3 separate regions of the Homo sapiens genome follow, and regions 1 and 2 are each linked to region 3. Evidence: promoter capture Hi-C in 16 types of primary human blood cells and fetal thymus (Javierre and others, 2016). All regions are on one chromosome and are shown on one strand. The core of a region is centred on a gene start or on the middle of the fragment in contact, and the rest is flanking DNA. Distances in the headings are between cores, read along the strand shown.

Region 1 (2,726 bases), core at 160-2,659, 370 kb before region 3:
CTACTGATGGAATATCTTCCCAGTAACAATGATATTGGTATTCATTAACCAGGATTCTTCCTTCCCAGAAACAAGGAATCAGATTAGCAATGAGAAGGATATTTGTTGTGTATCAACATGGAGAATTTAAAGGTCTTGAAGCATATATCCTCTAGATATGAAAAATCCAAACGAACTATCTCTCTTCCACAGTGGAGTGTATCTATTTGGTGCAAAAGTAATTGCAGTTTTTGCCATTAAAAGCAATGGCAAAAACAGCAATTACTTTTGCACCAGCCTAGTATCTAATCCCCAGACTATTAATATCTACCAAAGTGTGTCTGTCATCTATGAAAATTACTGGTAAAGTCTGTGAAAATTTTCACTGAAGGTCAGCAAAGGCACTATTATCTCATGCTGGAGAAGTTACAAGTGAATACTAGTACTAGTAACTAGTATTCATTAATACTAGTTAGCTTTGTACACTACAGTTCCATGGCAGAGACAGCTTACTGAAAATATGCCCCAGTTCAGGGTTGGCAAATACATAGCACATGTGCTGTCCCCATCCCTTCCCATACTCTTGGCAGACATCACTAATTGATCACTACACTCTTCCTTCATTGAGTCTTACAGTTCTTCCCAACACAGCTCTATATGCAGCACTACCAATCCTGGCCCTGAGCTCCAGAAGAAGAATTAGGAAGCAAGGCATGTGCAGGTTTCTCACAGGGAGGTTAAGGACTACATGGAACTAAGTGCATTATTTCAAGTTCATTTTGATAGCTTGCTGTTAGAAGGTTAATGTTGTTGCCTGCTGCTCCTTACTGTAAACCCCTAGGTCCTGACTACCGAGGGGATATCAAGGGCTCTATGTTGGCTTTGGTTTTTCTCCTCTCCAGTGTTACAATATGGAGATGCCTACGTCTTACTTACACAGAACGAATTGTTCACCATCATTTTGTCAGTGAATGTATGTTTTAGAAGTCAGTTACTATGGGTGCAGCACACCAGCATGGCACATGTATACATATGTAACTAACCTGCACATTGTGCACATGTACCCTAAAACTTAAAGTATAATAATAATAATTAAAAAAAAAAAAAATAAAATAAAAAGAAGTCAGTTACATATTTAAGCTTCCCTTGGCTCTTTGCCACTTCCACTAGAGGGCGCCACTGAAAAGGAAAGGAGGTAAAACTAAAGGGAAGCCATTTTTCTCCTTAGTGCCTTTCTGTTGCCTCTGCTCAGCCTTACCATCCAGAAGAGGAAGTCCTCAACCAGTCTGCACAGCCTCTGGTGTACCACGGACATAGCACTCTCCACACAAACAGAAACATCTCTTGCTATACTTGCCCTTCTCCTCTGATCCCAAACACCCTTCATTCATCTCAATCACTTTCCCATGGACTTGTTTTCCTTCTTTCATTAGAACCAGAGCTCCATGAGGGCAAAGCTGGTCTTTGTCTTCCCATACCATTATGGTGCCTGGCACAGAGTAGGTCTTCCATACACAGTTGTGTGTTACAAACCTCATGTGCTGAAAAATCACAAGCCTCTTATTCAAGGTGACAGAAATGGAAACCACACCACCTTATTAAGTCGTAGCAAATTTTCCACAACTTCATAAGCATGTGCTTGGACCCTGCTTTCTAATTCTTCAAACCAGGAAATAACTCCCACATGGGCACTAGTGTTCTGCTCTTCTACACAGTGGAATTAAGCTTCTTAACTCCGCATCTATAAGGTTTGATACAAAAGGAAACTCTATTGTCATTTAACCTGACGTTCTAGCAGTTTTCCTTGAAGTTCTCACAGGAGAACTTTGGGGACAATCCTCTCATCAAAATGATTTCTAGCTGCTACCCTTCTCCCACCTTGAAATTCTTAAAGTTTCTTGCCCCCTTGTTGACTTTAATTATGTTCTTCCAATAGCCTTGTAAAATTGAGCAAGTTCCCGACAGCATTTTGAAAGGCCCTGTGAGCTCCCTGGTCAGCATTTTCAATCTCTAATTATAAATCTGCCTGATGGCTTTCACTTAATACTTCTAAGGTGGGGCTGAGGGTAATTGATGGTTTTGAAGCTAGCTCTTTAATAGCAGCCGTCAATGTATCAAGGCTTAATTTCTTTCATGATCTCAGAGAAGTTGCTGCAAGTGGTGAGGAACTTATGTTATCATCCATCCTAGGAAAACAGAGAGATTTTATTAGAGTGTAGTGAAATATTTATAAGAACATTAGAGCTTGTGGGACTCAAGAACTGACTTCACCTCAAACTTTCATTTGCATACTTGCTTCCAGGGAAATCTATTATGGGATGGCCTGGATATATCACTTTAAAAATCCTGCTTTTAATGAACAAATGAGAAAAGGTGAGTAGTTTTCTCTAGAAAGAACATTTTTCTCACCCACTGTCTTCCCGGAAAGATAAAAATATGCTCAAAATATAGCATAGAAATAAAGGGACTATTTTGAAACAGAGACGAAAACATTTTAACTCAAGAAAGAAACGTCAGTGATGATGGAGGATTTCCTTAACAAGAAGAAGAGGCTTCACTGTTTGTTCACAAAGAAACTCGGTCTCTCAGTCTTTAGTTGTGACTTTCTGTTTTACCGAACTATTATTTTAATTGTGGCTTCTCTGTGTTCTCGTTGCCTTCCCGTAACATTTCCATGTTACTTTGTTGGTACTCATTGTCCTTCTGACAAGCCATGTCAGTCTCTTCCACACTGCCTCTTCCATCAA
Region 2 (2,700 bases), core at 116-2,615, 480 kb before region 3:
GAAGCAGAGGTTGCAGTGAGCCGAGATCACACCATTGCACTCTAGCCTGGGTGACAGAGCGAGACTCTATCTCAAAAAATAAATAAATAAATAATAGAGACAGAGTATGACTATGTTGCCTAGGCTGTTCTTTAACTCCTGGTCTTAAGCAATCCTCCTGCCTTGCCCCTGCTAAAATGTTGGGATCACAGGTGAAGCCACCATGTCCAGCCTTTTTTTTTTTTTTTTTTTTTTTTGCTTTCTCTCTCTCTCTCTCTTTCATAAATTAGAGATGGAGTCTCACTATATTGCCCAGGCTAGTCTCAAATTCCTGGCCTTAAGTGATCCTCCCACCTCGTAATCTACTTTTTGGGGACTAATGAGGTGTAGCCAAAATACAACATGTGGGAGGCAGTAAATGTAGAGATTAGGAGTAGATTTGGCAAGCCAGACTGCTGTGGTCACACCCCAGCACAGAATTTATGAATCCGGCTCCTCTCCATTCAAATCTCTGCCAAAAATCACCTCCTTCTGGAGGCCCACCATGACTATTCTATTTAATACAGCTTACCCCACTGCCCTATCACTCTCTACACCATTCTCATTTTATTATGCTCAGAGTATCTATTATTCTCCGAAGAAGCATTTCTTGAAATCTAGCTGGTAATCTTCTTTCCTTATTAGAATGTAAGCTCCATGAGAGCAGGGATCTCTCTGTATCAGAATCTGTATTGTGCTTGGTAGGTAGTTGACTCAATAAACATTTCTGAGTGAATGAATATATTATATGGAAATTGAAGAATACAAGCTTCTCCACATAAGCACGTGGCAGAAAAGACAAAAAGAGAGGTAGAGAAAAAGACTCTCTTTTTATTTAAGCTTCCCTCCCCTGTTGAAATCCACTACTCCAAAAAAGGGAGACACTGACCAAAACAGAAACAAAAGAAACTAATTCTTGGTTTTTATGCTTCCTGATAATTTAAGGGATTTTCATAGATAGGTTTGACAAATGCAATTTTTTTGCCTTAGGCACTGGCACTAGAAACTATTAATAAACAAGATTGGCCTACAGAGGGTGCTAGTTCTCTTCAAAAAAGTAAAAGAAGTGCATGCGCTTTTCCACTGGGTCTGGGAAAGAGTTTACAAAACAAGCAGAGACACAGCTTAGTAACAACTAATGAAACGTCTAAATTGCCACATTTTGCTTCATAAAAAAAAAAAAAGGAGGAATCTGTGAAAGTGCCAGAGGCATTCAAAGACGTCCCCTGAGGAAAAGAATTGGCATCATTTTTCAAATGCAAAGAGAAGCTAAGCTAAGAGAAGCATCCATTTAAAAAGTTTTTTTAGTTCTTATTTTTGATAGAGAAGGGGTATCACTATGTTGACTGGCCTGATTTTGAACTCGGAGGCTCAAAGGATCCTCTGCCCCTCAGAGTGCTTGGATTGCAGGTGTGAGCTACCAAGAGAGGCATCCAGAAGTTGAAAAGACTGAATCTGTTGTGAAACAGAAGACCCAGGTCGGGGGAAGTTGTTGCCAGCCCTGGAGGGAGGAGAGGTGACAGGCCTCTGCCACATTCCACCCCCACTTCATGCTGGGACATGGGGACCTGGAGACCTAGTGTGAGATGCCTGTAGACTCTGTAACTGGAGGAGTGTTCTGACAGCTGTGTTTCCTGAAACTGAGTCTTGGTTTCAGAGTTCAGCAAGGGATATGCATGGTGGTGGTAGCGTTGGGACAGAAGCGGGGCACTACTTGAGAGTTTTGAAATATGTAATTTGTCACAGCAAGGACAAGGGCAAGTGAGCCTGGCAGGAGGGAGGAGCCTCTTCAAAGTCTGGATCTGCAAAAAAAATCTTCAGAAGAGGAAATGAAACAAATAAGCGAGTTCTTAAAAAAGCTTTTGAGCTCTCTAAATGAGCAATAGTTGAGGCAGCTTTGATAGTCCAAAGCTAACCTCAAGGCTGGGATTCTTTTATTTATTTATTTATTTATTTATTTATTTATTTATTTATTTATTTATTATTTTGTAGAGATGGGAAGGGGAGGGGTCTCACTATGTTGCCCAGCCTGGTCTTAAACTCCAGGCCTCAAGCAGTCCTCCAGCCTTGGCCTCCCAAAGTGTTGGAATTACAGGCATGAGCCACTGTGCCAGGAAAAGGTTAAGAGTCCTTTTTTTTTTTTTTTTTTTAACTTCAAGGCTGAGATTCTTAATCCTAGTACTCTAGACGTCATATTCCAGTGATCAGATGCAGAATCCATAAGTGCTCTGACAGGTCTTATCATTATGTGTGGTGTTTTCACTTAGTGAGTGCCCTTGTTTTGTCAGTTCAAGGTGGCTTGCTTAGTTACTTTATTGTAATGTTCAATGGCTAAACTTTAAACAAAAATCAATAAAGGGCAAGGAATGAGTTTGCAAAAACTATCAGCCACTTCCCTCAATTTAATTGTAAAATCAATCAAATCTGTTTTTTGGCACAGTGCAAGGAAAACATCTATTTGTCCAATAAACTGTCTCATTGATTAAATGGTTCATTTGGAAGAGATAACAAAAGTCTAAGATTTTAATCTCAAGGAAAAATGTATCTTGCAAACATGTTTTCAAGATCCTGAGATCATATTATTTTCCTTTAAGGATTTGCTTCATCCCAGGTGTTCATCTAATCCTACTTTTGCTATTTTTAATCATTATTCATCTATGTAAAATGGAAAATCTATTTAGA
Region 3 (2,700 bases), core at 157-2,656:
CAAGCACAGTCTGAGATGCTGGGTTTGCATACAGTGAAGAACAAGATAGACATATGTCTCTGTCTTCAAGGAGCTTACATTATCCAGCATAAGAGACATTAAACGAGGTTGGGTGTGGTGGCTCACGCCTGTAATCCAGCCCTTTGAGAGGCCGAGGTGGGCATATCACCTGAGGTAAGGAGTTCGAGATCAGCCGGGCAAACATGGCGAAACCCCATCTCTACTAAAAATACAGAAATTAGCTGGGCGTGGTGGTGGCCACCTGTAATCCCAGCTAATTAGGAAGCTGAGGCAGGAGAATCGCTTGAAGCTGAGAGGCGGAGGTTGCAGTGAGCTGAGATCATGCCACTGCACTCCGGCCTGGGCGATAGAGCAAGACTCCGTCTCAAAAAAAAAAAAAAAAAGAAAGAGACATTCAACGAGCAAACAAATAATCAATATAAAGTCAGGTAATGGTAAATATTCTGAAGGAAAATAAAGCGGGGCATGGAATAAGGGTGGGTGAGGCTATTTTAATGGTGTGGTCCTTTCTAAGATGATATTTGAGAAAGACCTGTAAGGTCATGAGAAGAGGTCAGAGAAGCACATTGCTGGCAATGGGAACAGAGAGTGCAAAGGCCCAGAGGTCTTTCCTTCCTCCTAAGATGGAAAGCGAGGTCCAAGATTCTGCATATTTACTTCCTCCCATAATAGGTAGCCAGCACAGTTCTGAGGGCACAGTGCCAGGTTTTCAGAGTGGAGGTTCTCTTCAGGTTCTGATTTCAAACGTCCAAATCCTAGCCTCCACATTTCAGGGCTTCTCTGGAATGTCTCTTCCCCTGGGAAACTTTAACTCATCTACTAAAGAGCAATCTACGATTTCTCTGAATATTAACATAATTTTTTTAAAAAGTACTTATAGGTTTGCATGGTGGCTCATGCCTGTAATTCCAGCACTTTGGGACGCCGAGGCAGGAGGATTGCTTGAGACAAGCCTGGGCAACATACCGAGACCTCGTCTCTACAAAAATATTAAAAAATTAGCTGGGTGTGGTGGTGTGCGCCTGTAGTACCAGCTACTCAGGAGGCTGAGGTGGGAGGCTCTCTTGGGCCCAGGAGGTAGAGGCTGCAGTGAGCCGTGAGGGAGCCATTGCACTCCAGTCTGGGTGACAGAATGAGACTGCCTCACAAAAAAAAAAAAAAAAAAAAGCTTGTTACTTTCTAAGGGTATGTGTTTGGGGCAGTGATTTTGTTTTTCTGGGCACCTTAGTAACACTGCGGCCACGCTTCCCCAACTAAAGGTAAAAGTCCATAGCAACAATCCTCCCTTTCTCTCTGCACCCGGGCCGCTTTCCCGCGGAGACTACATTTCCCAGAATGCCCCGCGGGCTGGGACGGCGCGCGCAGCGCTGTTTCGTGGGACCAGGATTGAAACAAGATGGCGGGTTCGTGGTGAGAAGCCGTCAAGGTAACCGCTTCCCTCTACTCCTCCTGTCGAGGACTTCCTCGAAACTGGGCAGTCCCACAGTGTTGGTCGGCAGTTGTAGAGGTCTCCCGCCTGTCGTTCCCGGCAGGGCGAGGTTGCCTGCATCCCCAGCCTTTGTCCTTCCTGCAGAAGAGCCGGCATGTGGCTGCGCGTTTCTTATAGCGCCCCCTTTGTTCCCTGGCGGACGCCCGTGGGGAGGTGATGCAGCTTGTGGCTCTAGGGACTCCTTTAGGTCGAAGAGTTCTGGTGCTCTTGGTAGCCTGTTCCTCAAACCTCTGACCCTCAGAGGCTCTGTAGCTTTTGTTTTGGGGTTGAATTCCGGGCTGAGGGACTTGATCTCTGAAATGATCTTCCTGGGGTGAATAATCTGACTCCCAGCAGGGCGTGCTTTTCTCTGGGCTTCGGACAGAGGGGACCTAATTTCCCCCAAGATGTTTTATTCGTGGTCAGAAGTCATGGGTTTACGTCCCACGCATGTATTAAGCAGCGATATACTGAGCAAGTAATCGATTGACCTCTCTGAGCCTTTGTTCTTAATCTGAAATGGAGATGCTGCTTCACACACTTGTGAAAGTCAGAGCACATATTGTATATGAAAGTGGGTTGTAAACTAAAAAGCACACCTATGAGCTCAGGGTTAACGGTGTTAATGTACTGGCAGTGCAAGGTATCAGTGTGAGTGGTTTAGACTAGCAAATAAGAGGGCCTGTGTCCTAATTCTCTTTTATCACTATTGGGGGGAAGGGCACGGATACTCATTGAAGACTATTAAAAACAAGATTTAACAATGGTTATTTGTCATTTATTCACAACAGGCCATGAAGATTGTGGTTTTCCCCATTTTGTCATTGGAGAAACTGAGGATCGTTTAGTTAATGACTTGTTTAAAGTTTCCCAATTTGGCAGTGACTGACTCTAAAGTCCTTGGAAGCAAGACGTTTAAATTTTGTACTTTAGTTTCTTCATGAATCAGAATAAAGATACCTCACATGATTAATACGAGAGCAAAATGAAATGGTGGTGAAAGTACGTTGGAAAGTTAAAGACTTTGTACACATATAAGATGGTGAAATTTTATCTGGGACTTGAGGGCATTTATGAGTTCCTCCAATTGAGTAATAGGCTAAGGATAGGCCTTGTTTGATATTTCTTTATTATTATTATTATTATTAATGGCTCAGGGCAGACAACTATTTCATTTAATCAGAAACAGGATAGTACTGTAAATGATGTAG

Evidence for each region. The method cuts DNA at HindIII sites, captures the fragments that hold promoters and counts their contacts. A CHiCAGO score of 5 or more calls a contact.
Region 1: a fragment that was not itself captured here is called in contact with the fragment with the promoter of MRPL42 in region 3 in 4 of 17 cell types (naive B cells, erythroblasts, total B cells and 1 more); the score reaches 6.4 in naive B cells.
Region 2: a contact is called between a fragment that was not itself captured here and the fragment with the promoter of MRPL42 in region 3, in 15 of 17 cell types (total B cells, naive CD4 T cells, fetal thymus and 12 more). The highest score is 10.8, in total B cells.

What each region holds. Positions count from the first base shown.
Region 1 is chr12:93,097,052-93,099,777 of GRCh38, forward strand. All of the region lies in intron 3 of LOC643339 (a long non-coding RNA gene), which reads right to left. LOC105369908 (a long non-coding RNA gene) reads left to right here. Exons shown (of 4, transcript NR_188219.1): 3 at 2,282-2,352. Among named protein-coding and RNA genes, the nearest start is that of LINC02412, 76 kb to the right of the region's middle. RefSeq lists an enhancer at 1,282-1,531. The HindIII fragment of the contact is 585 bases long and covers 1,118-1,702 here.
Region 2 is chr12:92,986,428-92,989,127 of GRCh38, forward strand. No RefSeq gene overlaps it. Among named protein-coding and RNA genes, the nearest start is that of LINC02413, 3.0 kb to the right of the region's middle. RefSeq lists an enhancer at 1,813-1,862. The HindIII fragment of the contact is 1,019 bases long and covers 857-1,875 here.
Region 3 is chr12:93,466,108-93,468,807 of GRCh38, forward strand. MRPL42 (mitochondrial ribosomal protein L42) reads left to right here and starts at 1,407. Exons shown (of 6, transcript NM_014050.4): 1 at 1,407-1,447. RefSeq lists enhancers at 1,239-1,298, 1,359-1,628. The HindIII fragment of the contact is 2,939 bases long and covers 1,188-2,700 here.